Linked DNA regions of Homo sapiens: regions 2 and 3 are each linked to region 1. Evidence: promoter capture Hi-C in 16 types of primary human blood cells and fetal thymus (Javierre and others, 2016). All regions are on one chromosome and are shown on one strand. The core of a region is centred on a gene start or on the middle of the fragment in contact, and the rest is flanking DNA. Distances in the headings are between cores, read along the strand shown.

The links. The method cuts DNA at HindIII sites, captures the fragments that hold promoters and counts their contacts. A CHiCAGO score of 5 or more calls a contact.
Region 2: a fragment that was not itself captured here is called in contact with the fragment with the promoter of LRRC57 in region 1 in 2 of 17 cell types (endothelial precursors and megakaryocytes); the score reaches 7.5 in endothelial precursors.
Region 3: a contact is called between a fragment that was not itself captured here and the fragment with the promoter of LRRC57 in region 1, in 3 of 17 cell types (endothelial precursors, megakaryocytes and total CD8 T cells). The highest score is 12.5, in endothelial precursors.

The regions. Positions count from the first base shown.
Region 1 is chr15:42,546,807-42,550,954 of GRCh38, forward strand. LRRC57 (leucine rich repeat containing 57) reads right to left here and starts at 1,987. Exons shown (of 6, transcript NM_153260.3): 1 at 1,887-1,987; 2 at 1,545-1,650; 3 at 1,300-1,438; 4 at 455-723. The coding sequence starts at 1,628. It overlaps HAUS2 (HAUS augmin like complex subunit 2), which reads left to right and starts at 2,032. Exons shown (of 6, transcript NM_018097.3): 1 at 2,032-2,159. The coding sequence starts at 2,067. RefSeq lists an enhancer at 1,823-2,292. The HindIII fragment of the contact is 3,855 bases long and covers 1-3,744 here.
Region 2 is chr15:42,667,666-42,671,813 of GRCh38, forward strand. It overlaps STARD9 (StAR related lipid transfer domain containing 9), which reads left to right. Exons shown (of 33, transcript NM_020759.3): 16 at 1,493-1,672. Among named protein-coding and RNA genes, the nearest start is that of CDAN1, 67 kb to the right of the region's middle. The HindIII fragment of the contact is 1,545 bases long and covers 1,038-2,582 here.
Region 3 is chr15:42,647,298-42,651,445 of GRCh38, forward strand. It overlaps STARD9 (StAR related lipid transfer domain containing 9), which reads left to right. Exons shown (of 33, transcript NM_020759.3): 8 at 3,719-3,788. Among named protein-coding and RNA genes, the nearest start is that of STARD9, 74 kb to the left of the region's middle. The HindIII fragment of the contact is 4,992 bases long and covers 1-4,148 here.

The DNA.
Region 1 (4,148 bases), core at 737-3,236:
CACACTTTGTAACAAAGATGTCAAAACCCCACACAAAACGAAAAACAAAACTGAATTACCTCTGACTCCCGACTCTGAGAACCTCAGTTTAGGCCTCATTTCCACATTATATCCCTGACATAGCTCCTGGCTAGCTGGTTAGGGGCATATATTTGAGGAGGATCTGAAGAAGTCTTCAAGATTTGTGAGACAGTAGTTTAACTTTTGAAATGATCTCTCCCTGTTACCTACCCCACCCTCCCCAAAACACCTACACAACTAACACATCCAGTGTCTCAACTAATTCCATGGCACTTTGGGCCTTGAAATTAGTTCAGCCTATAGAAGAAACCTCTCATTTAGCCTCTGATACTTAGCTCTATGATGGCAGTTTAGGAAACAAGAGGTTAACAGGTATCAGGAGACCTTAAAGCCACACATATGCTGTAGGAAAAAAAACCTTAAAGCTCTAGACCTGATTCTGGTTGAGGTTGAGTTCGATGACTTGCAGCTCTCCCACTGAGTCAGGTATACTTCGAATCTGGTTCTTAGAGAGATCCATCACATCCAGGTGCCGTAGGCTACAAAGTTGGGGAGGTAATGCTCCCAGTTGGTTCCCAGAGAGGCTCAGGGTCTTGAGGGCAGAGAGTTGCCCAAAGGTAGACGGCAGCTCTCTAAGGTGATTGTTGTTTAGGCTTAGCGTCTCTAGTTTTTTCAGATTGCATATCTCATCAGGCAGAACAGCTGGCAAAGAAAAATTTTTTTAAAACCTGAATGTGATAGAGCTGAAAACAACTTTGATGAAGTTTATAAAGACTATATGGCAGCCTGCTTCGCCTCTTGTTAATATATGTAAAACTCCCACATGTGCCATTTTTAGATATTGCATTTTACCAACATAGTCTTTAGAAGGTGAGGGTGCCATCAAAATGCCGGAGAGCATTTGTGTGTATAATGGGCTCCTTTTGTAAAGGGGCCCAAGGCACAATCCGACAGCAATTTTGTGATATTTGGAAGATCCTCCCCTTCTCATCCATCCCCCATTCCAAGTTAGGTAGCTTTGTTTACATTACATCCCCAAAATGTTCTTCTCTTTCAAGTCCAAATTAACCCAGTAACAATCATTATAACACCCAATCATTATAAGGCTTATTTTAGATGTAATTACAAGAAGTAGAAAGAAGGCTTCAAGGATTCCGGCATTCGCAACTTGAGCCCTCCTGCACGGTTTCATAACAAAAACAAAAATCAGCTTGTAAGAGAAAACCACCCCTGGTAACAGCTGATCACTAGCAAAAGCCTCCCTGGCGAGAGCCATACTCAGTTTGTTGTTGTTCAGGGAGAGGCTCTTCAGCAGAGTGAACTTTCCTATCAGCAAAGGCGGTAGGCTTTCGATCTTGTTGTTGGACAAGTCGATGGTCCTGAGATTGCTCGTCAGCTTCTGCAAGTCTGCGGGGAACTGGAGAAAGGAGTTCACAGCGTGGGGAATCCCGCACCGACTAAGTTCGCCGCCCCCGCCGTCCCTCTCCCTTTAAGTTCCCTGGTCGTGTCCCTCCCAGTCTCACCTCGGTCAGCCCTCGGTCCTTAAGCTGAAAGACACCAGTTTTCTGCGCCGTTTCCACATGAGCGCGGAGCGCACTGTTTCCCATCCTAGCGCCGCGGCTCAGGTCCCTGCGGGAAGGAAGCGCTGCTGTCACCGCCCAGTCCACCCGGTCGGCCTCCCGGCTGGGGCTCCTGCCCCAGCTCTCAACTCCCGCCGATCCCTGGCTCCTGGGGCCCGACCCAAGAGCGACAAGGAAGAAACGGAAGAACACACAGCCCGACCACCAAGCCCTGCCGCCTTTGCAGCTCTGCGGAGGCCAGGCGCCTCTGGGAGCCTACGGAAGATCAGGGAGCCCCGGACTCGCCTCCCACCGCTCAGCTGCCGTAAGGCTCCGCAGGTGAAGACCCAGGACCCGCAGTAGCCGGGATGCGCTCCCCGGCTTAGTCCCGGGCGGGAACGCCCTGTGACGTCATCGAGCCGCGCCGTGCGTTCGCCCTGCGATCCCGCTCACTCTTGGCGCCTTCGCGGAAGGTGCGTCCGAGCCATGGCCGCTGCCAACCCGTGGGACCCGGCGTCCGCGCCTAACGGCGCTGGGCTAGTGCTAGGCCACTTCATAGCTTCGGGGATGGTCAATCAGGTACGTGGGGGTGGCGGTGGTGTCATCAAGGGGGTGCCCAAGGTGGCAACAATATGGCTGTGAGTTGGTGCTGCTGGCTGTGGGAGTGGTGAGGGTCCTGGTTGGGGTCTGTACTAGAGTAATAAGAGCCCCTTCCAGGCAACAGCCGCGAACGTTCTGCCGTGGATGCTTGGAAAGCGGGGATCTGAGTAGATGGTGTTTAGGGTAGACTGTGTTTTGAGTGTCTGTAGGGTAAATTTGTCCCAGTCCAGTTTGTGGGAGATTAGACTGTTACCAGCCTTTTTTTCATCCAGTGATACTGCCTCTAGACTGTAGTGTAAGGGCGGGGATGGGAAATACGGGTCGTTCTGTCCCCTTGCGGAACAAGCATTTCCAACAACCCTCGTTTGTGGGAAGTGTTGAATCGTATTTGGGGCGGGAGGTGCTGGGTAGAGAAGAGCGCCAGAAGCTCTTTTTTGACATTTTTATTTTATTTTATTATTTATTTATTTATTTATATGAGACAGAGTCTCGCTCTAACGCCCAGGCTGGAGTGCAGTGGCGTGGTCTCGGCTCACTGCAACCTCCGCCTTCCTGGTTCAAGCGATTCTCCTGCCTCAGCCTCTGGAGTAGCTGGGACTACAGGCGCCCACCACCACACCCAGCTAATTTTTTTTTGTATGTTTAGTAGAGACGGGGTTTCACCTTGTAAGCCAGGATGGTCCCGATCTCCTGACCTCGTGATCCACCCGCCTCGGCCTCCCAAAGTGCTGGGATTACAGGCGTGAGCCACCGCGCCCGGCCTTGGCATCTTTAAAGGCAAAAAAAAAAAAAAAAAAAAAAAAGTATTGGCTAAAAAGATAAGACCTTGGAACGTGAATGGAGGAAGAGATTAATTTTGAGAAGGAGAGAAAAGAGACATTAACCCAAGGAGTCACGGAGTGGCAGTTTTAGGTTGGGCAAGAGGAGCATGTCGGAGGAAGGAGCCAACAGAGGGAGAAATTGAACATGTGAGGAAATAATGGAATGCAGTGACAGGAGGGCATGGGGCAAGTGGGATCAAGGGCATTGAGAAAAATGGGGAAATAAATTTTGATATATAGAGGAAGTTGAGAAATTTCACTAAAAAGAAAACAGAAAAGTTAAACTGATCTGTAAAAATCAGCACATATTAGCCGGCATGGTGGCGTACACCTGTAGTCCCAACTACTCCGCGGACCACATGGGTCCTGGAGGCTCAGATGGGAAGATGGCTTGAGCTTAAGAGATGGAGGTTGCAGTGAGATGCGATCGGGCCACTGCACTTAGCCTGGGCGACAGAGTGAGACCCTGTCTCAGGGAAAAAAAAAAAAAAAAAAGCACTACAAACATGATGGAAGATTTACGGAAAATACATAACTTTTTATAGTCAGAAGAGCCATTAGAGACTCTAATACCTTACAGTATTTTTTAATTTAAGAAACTAAGGCTTAGACCAAGAAACTTGCCCATGGTCACTAGACTGTTAAAGGAGAATTAGATCTTAGTACTCTCCCTTTTGACACATTGTATCCCCTCTCAAGATGAACTGTTATAAGAGGCTGTGATACTGTATTAAAAGATTTTAAGCTTTTGTTGAACACCCATTGTCTGGGTGATGGGGAGATTCAGGTGGTCCTAGTTGACTAACTTTACCAGGAGTGACCACAGCACTCTACAGTGTAATCCTTCCTCCCTTCTCTCCTGTGTTTTCTTTTTTTTTTGAGACGGAGTCTCGCTCTGTTGCCCAGGCTGGAGTGCAGTGGCACAGTCTTGGCTCACTGCAAGCTCCACCTCCTGGGTTCATGCCATTCTCCTGCCTCAGCCTCATGAGTAGCTGGGACTACAGGTGCTCACCACCTCACCCGGCTAATTTTTGTATTTTTAGTAGAAATGGGGTTTCACCATGTTAGCCAGGATGGTCTCGATCTCCTGACCTCGTGATCTGCCTGCCTCTGCCTCCCAAAGTGCTGGGATTACAGGCGTGAGCCA
Region 2 (4,148 bases), core at 560-3,059, 120 kb after region 1:
GAGGGGTTTCACCATGTTGGCCAGGCTGGTCTTAAACTCCTGATCTCAGGTGATCCGCTTACCTCAGCCTCCCAAAGTGCTGGGATTACAGGCGTGAGCCACCACACCCGGCAGACAGGTTAGATTTAAATCCTACAACCAAACGTTTCAATTTCCAATATTCTGTTGCATCATCCTTATATGTTATTAAAGTATCCTGGCCATGTTAACATTTTGTCACCCTTAGTAAACCTCAAGACTAAATCACACGTCTAGAAGTTTCTCTAAAAAATTCCTCCTTCAGTCATGTATTCTGATTTTTTGTTCAGAAAATATCATCCCTCTATACTAAGAGATGAAGTAGTGGAGCCAAAATCATTCCAAACTCATTAGCATTCTTGCATTATGCAGGCCAGCTGAGCTGGACTTGAACCTGCCCCTTGTTGGCTGTATGATCTTAGGCAGTGTAGGAGTAGGTGGTGAAAGCTGGCCAGAGGGGCAGCTGTGCCAGGTTGGCTGAACTGTAAGCCAGAGTGTCCTGCCACTCACCAATGCCAGGGGTCCCTATCCAACCCAGCCCTTTACAGGTACCCTGTAGTTTCCTGGTTTCCAAACTTCAACTCAATGATTATTAAAATAATGTTTCTAGGGTACATAAAGCACTTGTACCTAAACCTGGCATAATTTTTTTTAACTATTCCCTTTATGAGAGAAGCACTTAGCTAAATCTAATTTTTTTTTTTTTTTCTGAGCTTCCTCAGTTCTTCCATTCCCAGGATAAGCTCAATGCTTAGGCATCGGTTTCCACTAAAAGAAGAAAAAGTACCCTACATTTATCACTGTGCATGTCCCTAAAGTGGTCTTAGCTTAAGGCCTCTAAGGCTGGGTACATTTACTTTTAAAAACTCTGTTCCTGGTACACAGTAAGAACTCAGTATTCTACTGTTATTATTGTTTTTATTGTCTTATTACATGATCTTCCAGACAAGTTCCATATAGTCTTAGTTCCACCTGGGGAGATTCCTCTCAGTGCTTTGTGGTTCTGTGAGCCGTGTGCAAGCTTATATTATAACTCAAAGTACTGTACTTTGGGAAAGAAGTGTGTAGGTCATAAAAGGGTTCCCAAGTATGGATCATGTAAAACTGGGGTGGGGAAAGGGAAATTATAAACATAGATGTCTAACATCCCAATTAATTTTTAAAGAATAACTTGAAAATAACATGTTTTTTTCTAATTATAAAAACAATACATGTTCATTGCAGAAAACTTTAAAAATAACATTTATTGAGGGGGCTTCTGTTTATACAAGTAACACTTGCTTATTGAAGAAAACTTGGAAAACACAGCTTGCAGTTGGAGGAGGTACAAGGGCTTCTGTGGGGCTTTGAATAGTATCTGGGAGGATCATAAGAAAGCAGTACCCTGGGGAAATAGGAATAGATTGTAATGACTTCTGACCTTTAGTCTGTTCCCCATGCTGAGTGTCTCAGATCACCTCCTATACCTCTGCAGATAGACCAGCTGACTAAAGACTGGACCCAGAAGTGGAATGATTGGCAGGCCCTCATGGAGCATTACAGTGTGGACATCAACAGGAGGAGGGCTGGGGTGGTCATCGACTCCAGCCTGCCACACTTGATGGCCTTGGAGGATGATGTGCTCAGCACAGGTGTTGTGCTCTATCATCTCAAGGTGAGGAGGCTAGTGTATCCTTTTCTTCCTAAGCCACTGGTTCCAGAGGTCAAGGAGGGAAAAGCTAGGAGCAGCAGCCATGTTACTGTGAATTGAAATCAAGACAGATGCTACAGAGCTGCCTTCAGGTTTGCTCTCAGGAAACGTCTACCTGACAAATTGTGATCTGTTTTGCCTTCGTATGTATAGAGCAGAAGACTGGAAATCAGAACAATTGTTTTTCAACTGCTGCTACTGTTGTTCTTATGTAACTTACTTTTGTTCTCTTTGCCTTAATTTCCTCATTTTAAAGTAAGAATGATGCTTATCATATTCCTTTTCTGGCTTAGTGAAGCATAGGGGTATAGTCATGGAGAGTGAAACCCTAACCTCAAGATAACCATTAGTGCTCCTAAACTCTACAAATACAGACTGCTCAAAGGTGGCTTTCAGGTTGGGCGCGGTGGCTCACACCTGTAATCTCAGCACTTTGGGAGGCTGAGGCGGGCAGATCACTTGAGGTCAGGAGTTCAAGACCATCCTGGCCAACATGGTGAAACCCCACCTCTACTAAAAATACAAAAGTTAGCCGGGCGTGGTGGTGGGAGCCTGTAATCCCAGCTACTTGGGAGGCTGAGGCAGGAGAATCACTTGAACCCAGGAGGTGGAGGTTGCAGTGAGCTGAGATCACGCCACTGCGCTCCAGCCTGGGTGACAAAGTAAGACTCTGTCTCAAAAATAAATAAATAAAATAAATAAAAATAATGTTTTTAAAAAAAGGTGGCTTTCAGAGACTAAAGGGAATTCAGAAGATTTGAAAGTTTTCTTCTGACACTTCCCCACTTCATTCAACCCCAAATAAACAGTACACTTCCCACTTCTCCATCACTACATTTACCTGGAAAAGGAGACAGAGAAAGTAGGTAAAGGAAGCTTAAAACATAGGGAGGGTCCAAAGAGCTAGAGTAGTGTGATGGTGGGGGAAGAGGGGATGACAGGCATCCATCTAGAAAAAGATTAAAGTTAAAGCTTCCAAACAGCACCTGGCCCACCTGGCTCTGTGTCACCTGGAGGCCAGTCCTCATTTCTGATTGAAGTGGTTTTGAGAGTTAGTGACCTATGGTAGATAGAGTCTTTTATCTTGTTCTCATCAATGTGTTCTACTGTGGGAGGACAGTTCCTTTTGACAGCAGAACGTACTTCCCATGCTCAAAATCCCTGTGCTCACTGAAAATCTAGTTTTCATTCTCATAATTATCCCCAGCTGACGTTTAAAAAGAACAAAGAGTTTCTGGGGAGTATGTAATGCTGCTGTTATCCCTGGAGAAATTGGACTCCTTCTTAGTGCTGCAGGGCATATGGAAGTGAGATGTTAGCAAAGCTCATCGGTGTTCTTAGGATAAGCCCTTTGGGAAGTTGTCAGAGACTGAGCTGCTCAGACAGAAAATTTAAAGTAGCTTATTTTCTGGTATACAGGGTATAAATTTTCTTAGTGAAAGTGCCTGAGGCAGAAGTGGCTGGCAACTTTTACCTTAGCAAGAAAACTAAACACCAAATGGCTGTATAGATCCTCCCATTAGTCAGAAGCACAGAGAGAGGTTGGAGGTCAGGAAGAGACCAGATTGATTAAAATGGTCACTATTTGAGTAGAACTGATCTGATATATGGATTGGATGTAGAGTGAATAGATGAAGCTAGAAATCAAGTAGTAGAGCTTAGGGTCGCAGCAGAGGGTTAAAGGACATGACTATTAGATTGAATCGTAGACATGGAGATGAATGATGAACTCATCTGAAGATAGGATTGCTGATTTTTTTTTTTTTTTTTTTTTTTTGAGACGGAGTCTTGCTGTGTCACCCAGGCTGGAGTGCAGTGGCGCGATCTTAGCTCACTGCAACCTCAACCTCCTGGGCTCAAGTGATTCTCCTGCCTAAGCCTCCTGCATAGCTGGGATTACAGGCATGCACCACTGTTGGGAATAATGCTTAAAATTTTAAGGAAATTGAACACTTAAAGGATTTTTAGTAAAGCAATTTTACTTTTGTGCAGAGGGGTGCTTCTCCTTGGCCAGTTGCCATGAGAACACATCTGAACAAAGGGGCATGAGAGCCTTTATTTCTGACACAAGTCCTGCTCCTGTACCCTTTCTCCTTCCCCATTGGCTGGGGTTGGGTCGTACATTCTAAACTAATCCTGGTTGGCTAAACATCTGAACCTTTTTGGATAAGGTGGGCACATAAGGGAGAGGGGGGAAGGGGTGTCTGCAATGAGCTAGAGAGCTAGTTTTTTTTTAAATAAGGAAAGGAATGTGAGCTGGTACTGATAACGCTGGTACTGTGGCATGTCTGGGCATGTAATAAAGGCAGAAAGGAAGAAAAAAGAGAAAAAGGAAAAAAAGGGGTGGGGGGTTACTATGAATTGAAGAATAAAGGATTGATCAGGCTATTTGAAGAGAAACTTCATCATATCCCACAACCACCATGCCCGGCTAATTTTT
Region 3 (4,148 bases), core at 1,068-3,567, 100 kb after region 1:
TTTTTCCACTTGTTTTAACAGATACTAAGAAATGCAAGTTAAACTTTCCTACTATGAGTATGGATGCCTTTTTCTCCTTTTAATTCTGCCAATTTTTGTTTTATATATTTTGAGGCTTTATTATTACATGCATACAAAATTAGAATTGTTAAAACTTCCTGGTTCATTGAACACTTTTTTCATTGTGAAGGATTTTTCTTTATCTCTAATAATGCTTTTACTTTAAAGTCTACTTTGTCAGGCATTAACGAAACTAGCTTTCTTTGTGTTATTGTTTGTATTTTTATCTTCTTTTCTACTTTTACTTTCAGTTTTCTATGTATGTTTCAGATGTGTTTTTTATTTTAAAAAATTTTCCTTTTGCTTTGTTTTACCTTTGTTTCATCACAGTTTTGGTCTTTTAATTTGGTATTGTGGTCTGCTTGTATTTAATGTAATCACTGATTTTATTTGGGTTTAAATCTGTTATTTTGTGTTTTCTCTTTACTTTTCCTGTTTTATGTTCCTTTTTCGTTACTTTGTCTTTTGGTTTGATAACTTTAAAAAATTATTCCATATTCCTTCTCCACTAGCTTATTATTTACACATTGTCTTACTATTTTGGTGGTTACTCCAGAGATTACAACATAGACCATTGATTTATCAAAGTCTAATATTTACTGGTTGTTCTGCTTCTTCCCAGACAATAAACCTTTTGGACCTTATAAGACTTGAACTCAGTTTGTCCCTTCTTGACTTAAATGCCATTTTTAGGGCTCTTAATTTTTAAAGAATATCCTACCTTTTATCTCTGAGTGCCTTCTACTTCAAGAATAATCTTGTTTTCCCTCTAGTGTGGATCTGCTATTGACAAGTTCTCTTTTGGCTTTTTGTTTGTTTGTTTGAGATGGAGTCTTGCTCTGTCACCCAGGTTAGAGTGCAGTGGCGCGATCTCGGCTCACTGCAACCTCCGCCTCCTGGGTTTGAGCAATTCTCCTGCCTCAGCTTCCCGAGTAGCTGGGATTACAGGCACATGCTACCGTGCCCAGCTAATTTTTGTACTCTTAGTAGAGATGGGGTTTCACCATGTTGGCCAGGCTGATCTTGAACTCCTGACCGAAAGTAATCCACTGGCCTCGGCCTCCCAAAGTGCTGGGATTACAGGCATGAGCCCCCATACCCAGCCTGCTTTTCTTGTTCTTGAAGGTAAAGTTCACTGAGTACAGAATTTTAAATTGATGGTTATTTTCTTTTAGTCATTAAAAATTATACCATTCTCTTCTGCTTTCCACTGTTTTTGCTGAGAAGTCATCTCCTAGTCTAATTTTTTCAATATTTTTACTTTTGTCTTTGAACAGTTTATTATGGTCTACTTATGGGTAGATTTAGGTTTTTAAAAAATCATGCTGGGATTCTTGAATTGTGCTTTTGTATCTTCTTATCAGTTTTGGAAAGTTCTTAGCCATTACCTTTCCCTTTTTTCCCCCCTTCCCTCCACTACCATTACCTCTTATAATAATCCTTCTATCCCATTCTTTCCTCTTCTTTTGGGACTCTAATTACAGGTATGTTAAGGCCTATTGCCTGTATACTCTGTGAGTCTTACCATTTCTTCTATATTTAATTAATTAATTTATTTATTAGACATGAAGTCTTGCTAATGTTGCCCAGACTGGTTTTGGACTCCTGGGCTCAAGGGATCCTCCTGCCTCAGCCTCCCAAGTAGCTGAGATTACAGGTGTGCACACCTAGCCTCCATTTTTTTTTCTTTGAGATGGAGCCTCGCTGTGTTGCCCAGGCTGGAGTGCAATGGCGCAATCTCAGCTCACTGCAACCTCCACCTCCTGGGTTCAAGCGATTCTCTTGCCTTAGCCTCCCGAGTAGCTGGGATTACAGTCGCGCACCACCACAGCCGGCTGATTTTTGTATTTTCATGAGAGACGGGGTTTTACCACGTTGGTCAGGCTGGTCTTGAACTCCTGACCTCATGATCCACCCGCCTCAGCCTCCCAAAGTGTTGGGATTACAGGCGTGAGCCACTGCACCCGGCTCCCTCCATATTTTTAATCTTTTGTCTCTCTGTGCTAAATTTTGAGTATGTTTCTGATCTATCTTCCTGCTCACTCATTCTTTCTTCAGCTATGTCTAACCTGCTATTAAACTTTATATTGAGTTTTTATTTTCACTTACAGTATTATTTCTCAGATATCCATTTTATTATTTCATTATAGTTTCCAAGTTTACAATCTTGTCTTTAAACTCCTTGAAAATATTAAGCAGAGTTACTTTTTTTTTTTTTTGAAACGAAGTTTTGCTCTTATCGCCCAGGCTGGGGTGCAATGGTGAGATCTTAGCTCACTGCAACCTCTGCCTCCTAGGTCCAAGTGATTCTCCTGCCCCAGCCTCCTGAGTAGCTTGGACTATAGGCTCCCGCTACCATGTCCAGCTAATTTTTTGTATTTTTAGTCGAGGTGGGGTTTCACCATCTTGGCCAGGCTGGTCTTGGAACTCCTGACCTCATGATCTACCTGCCTTGGGCTCCCAAAGTAGTACTGGGATTACAGGCATGAGGCACCGAGCCTGGCCTTTTTTTTTTTTTTTTTTTTTGAGATGGAGTTTCGCTCTTGTTGCCGAGGCTGGAGTGCAATGGCGCGATCTCGACTCTCCACAACCTCCGCCTCCCAGGTTCAAGGGATTCTCCTGTCTCAGCCTCCCGAGTAGCTGGGATTACAGGCATGCACCAACACACCCAGCTAATTTTGCATTTTTAGCAGAGACAGGGTTTCTCCATGTTCGCCAGGCTAGTCTCAAACTCCTGACCTCAGGCCCGCCCGCCTCGGCCTCCCAAAGTGCTGGGATTACAGGCATGAACCACAGTGCCCAGCCTTCAGGGTTACTTTTAAGTCGGCCTGGTAGCTTCAGTATCTGGGTCTTTCTTGGATTGCTTTCTATTGACTATTATTTTTGTTGGTTTCATTTATGTTACTTTGTTATTTTGGGTGTAATTGTATTTAGCAATAAGCCCATGAAGTTACTTTGTTTTTGAATCTCTCATACAGAGATTCTCTGGAACAGTTGGGAAGGCCTTTGGGACTTGGTCAGTAACCAGCCATGAAGATTTACTTTCATGCCCGTAGGCTCCTCTTCACCTATCTAAAGCCTCCCCATTCTATAGTGGCTAAATTTAAGTCTCACTTCTTCTGTGGAACCTGTCCTGACCACGCCTCTGATCTCCTCATCATGTATCATCTTTCCAACTCCTGTGGCACTTGGCCATATTGTCTTGTGTAGTGTAACTTACCATGATTGTAAACTGTGGGAGGACAGAGATGAGTGTACTGTGTATTTTGTATGCCAAACCGAGTCTGCCACCTTGTGGGGAAAACAACACTGGCCTACCTCAGGGACTTTGTGAGGGCCAAATGAGAACAGTTCTTATAACCTATATAGCAGAACTGTAAGGAATTATAGTTGTTGTTAGCATATGGTCTATATGACTTATAGACCATAATCTCTGTGAGGACAGAGACCTATATTCCTAGAGTCTATCATATACCTGACAAGAGGTTTCCAATAAATATTTCTTGATTTAATTTATTATCTGAATGAATTTGGCCAGATTCCCTCATTTTTGTCTATTAAACAATATGAAATAGGAATGATAAAGACTTACAAGAAAAGGTTAAAGTTTACCAAAAATCTCATTTAATTTCTTTTTTCCGTTTCACAAATCCGATAGGTTTATCTCAACATGTAGTTACCAATTATAAGCAAGTAATCCAACTCTTGGAGGAGGGAATTGCAAACAGGTAACAGGTTTGTTTGTTTCTGTCATTCTTTTATCCTCACACTCCTATCCTGTGTTCCCATTTCCCTTTGGGGAGTGTATAATGACACTTAAAATTGTCTCTGTGTGTAGAGATGTTCACAACCAGGAGGCTCTTCCCAGAACAATAGTGTTCACAGGGTAAGGGGTGGTGACTAAGATTTAGTCTCTTCTCACTAGTAATGAAGCTGGAATCTGTTCTGGACATAATAATATTAGGCAGTAAGCCCAAGGAAGTTACTCTATATTTTGTTTAGAGCTTCTAAATTTGGAAGAAAGGGTTCTTACCTGCATTGTCCTCTCCTCAGGTTTGATAGATATAAGGATGAATATAGTGTAAAAG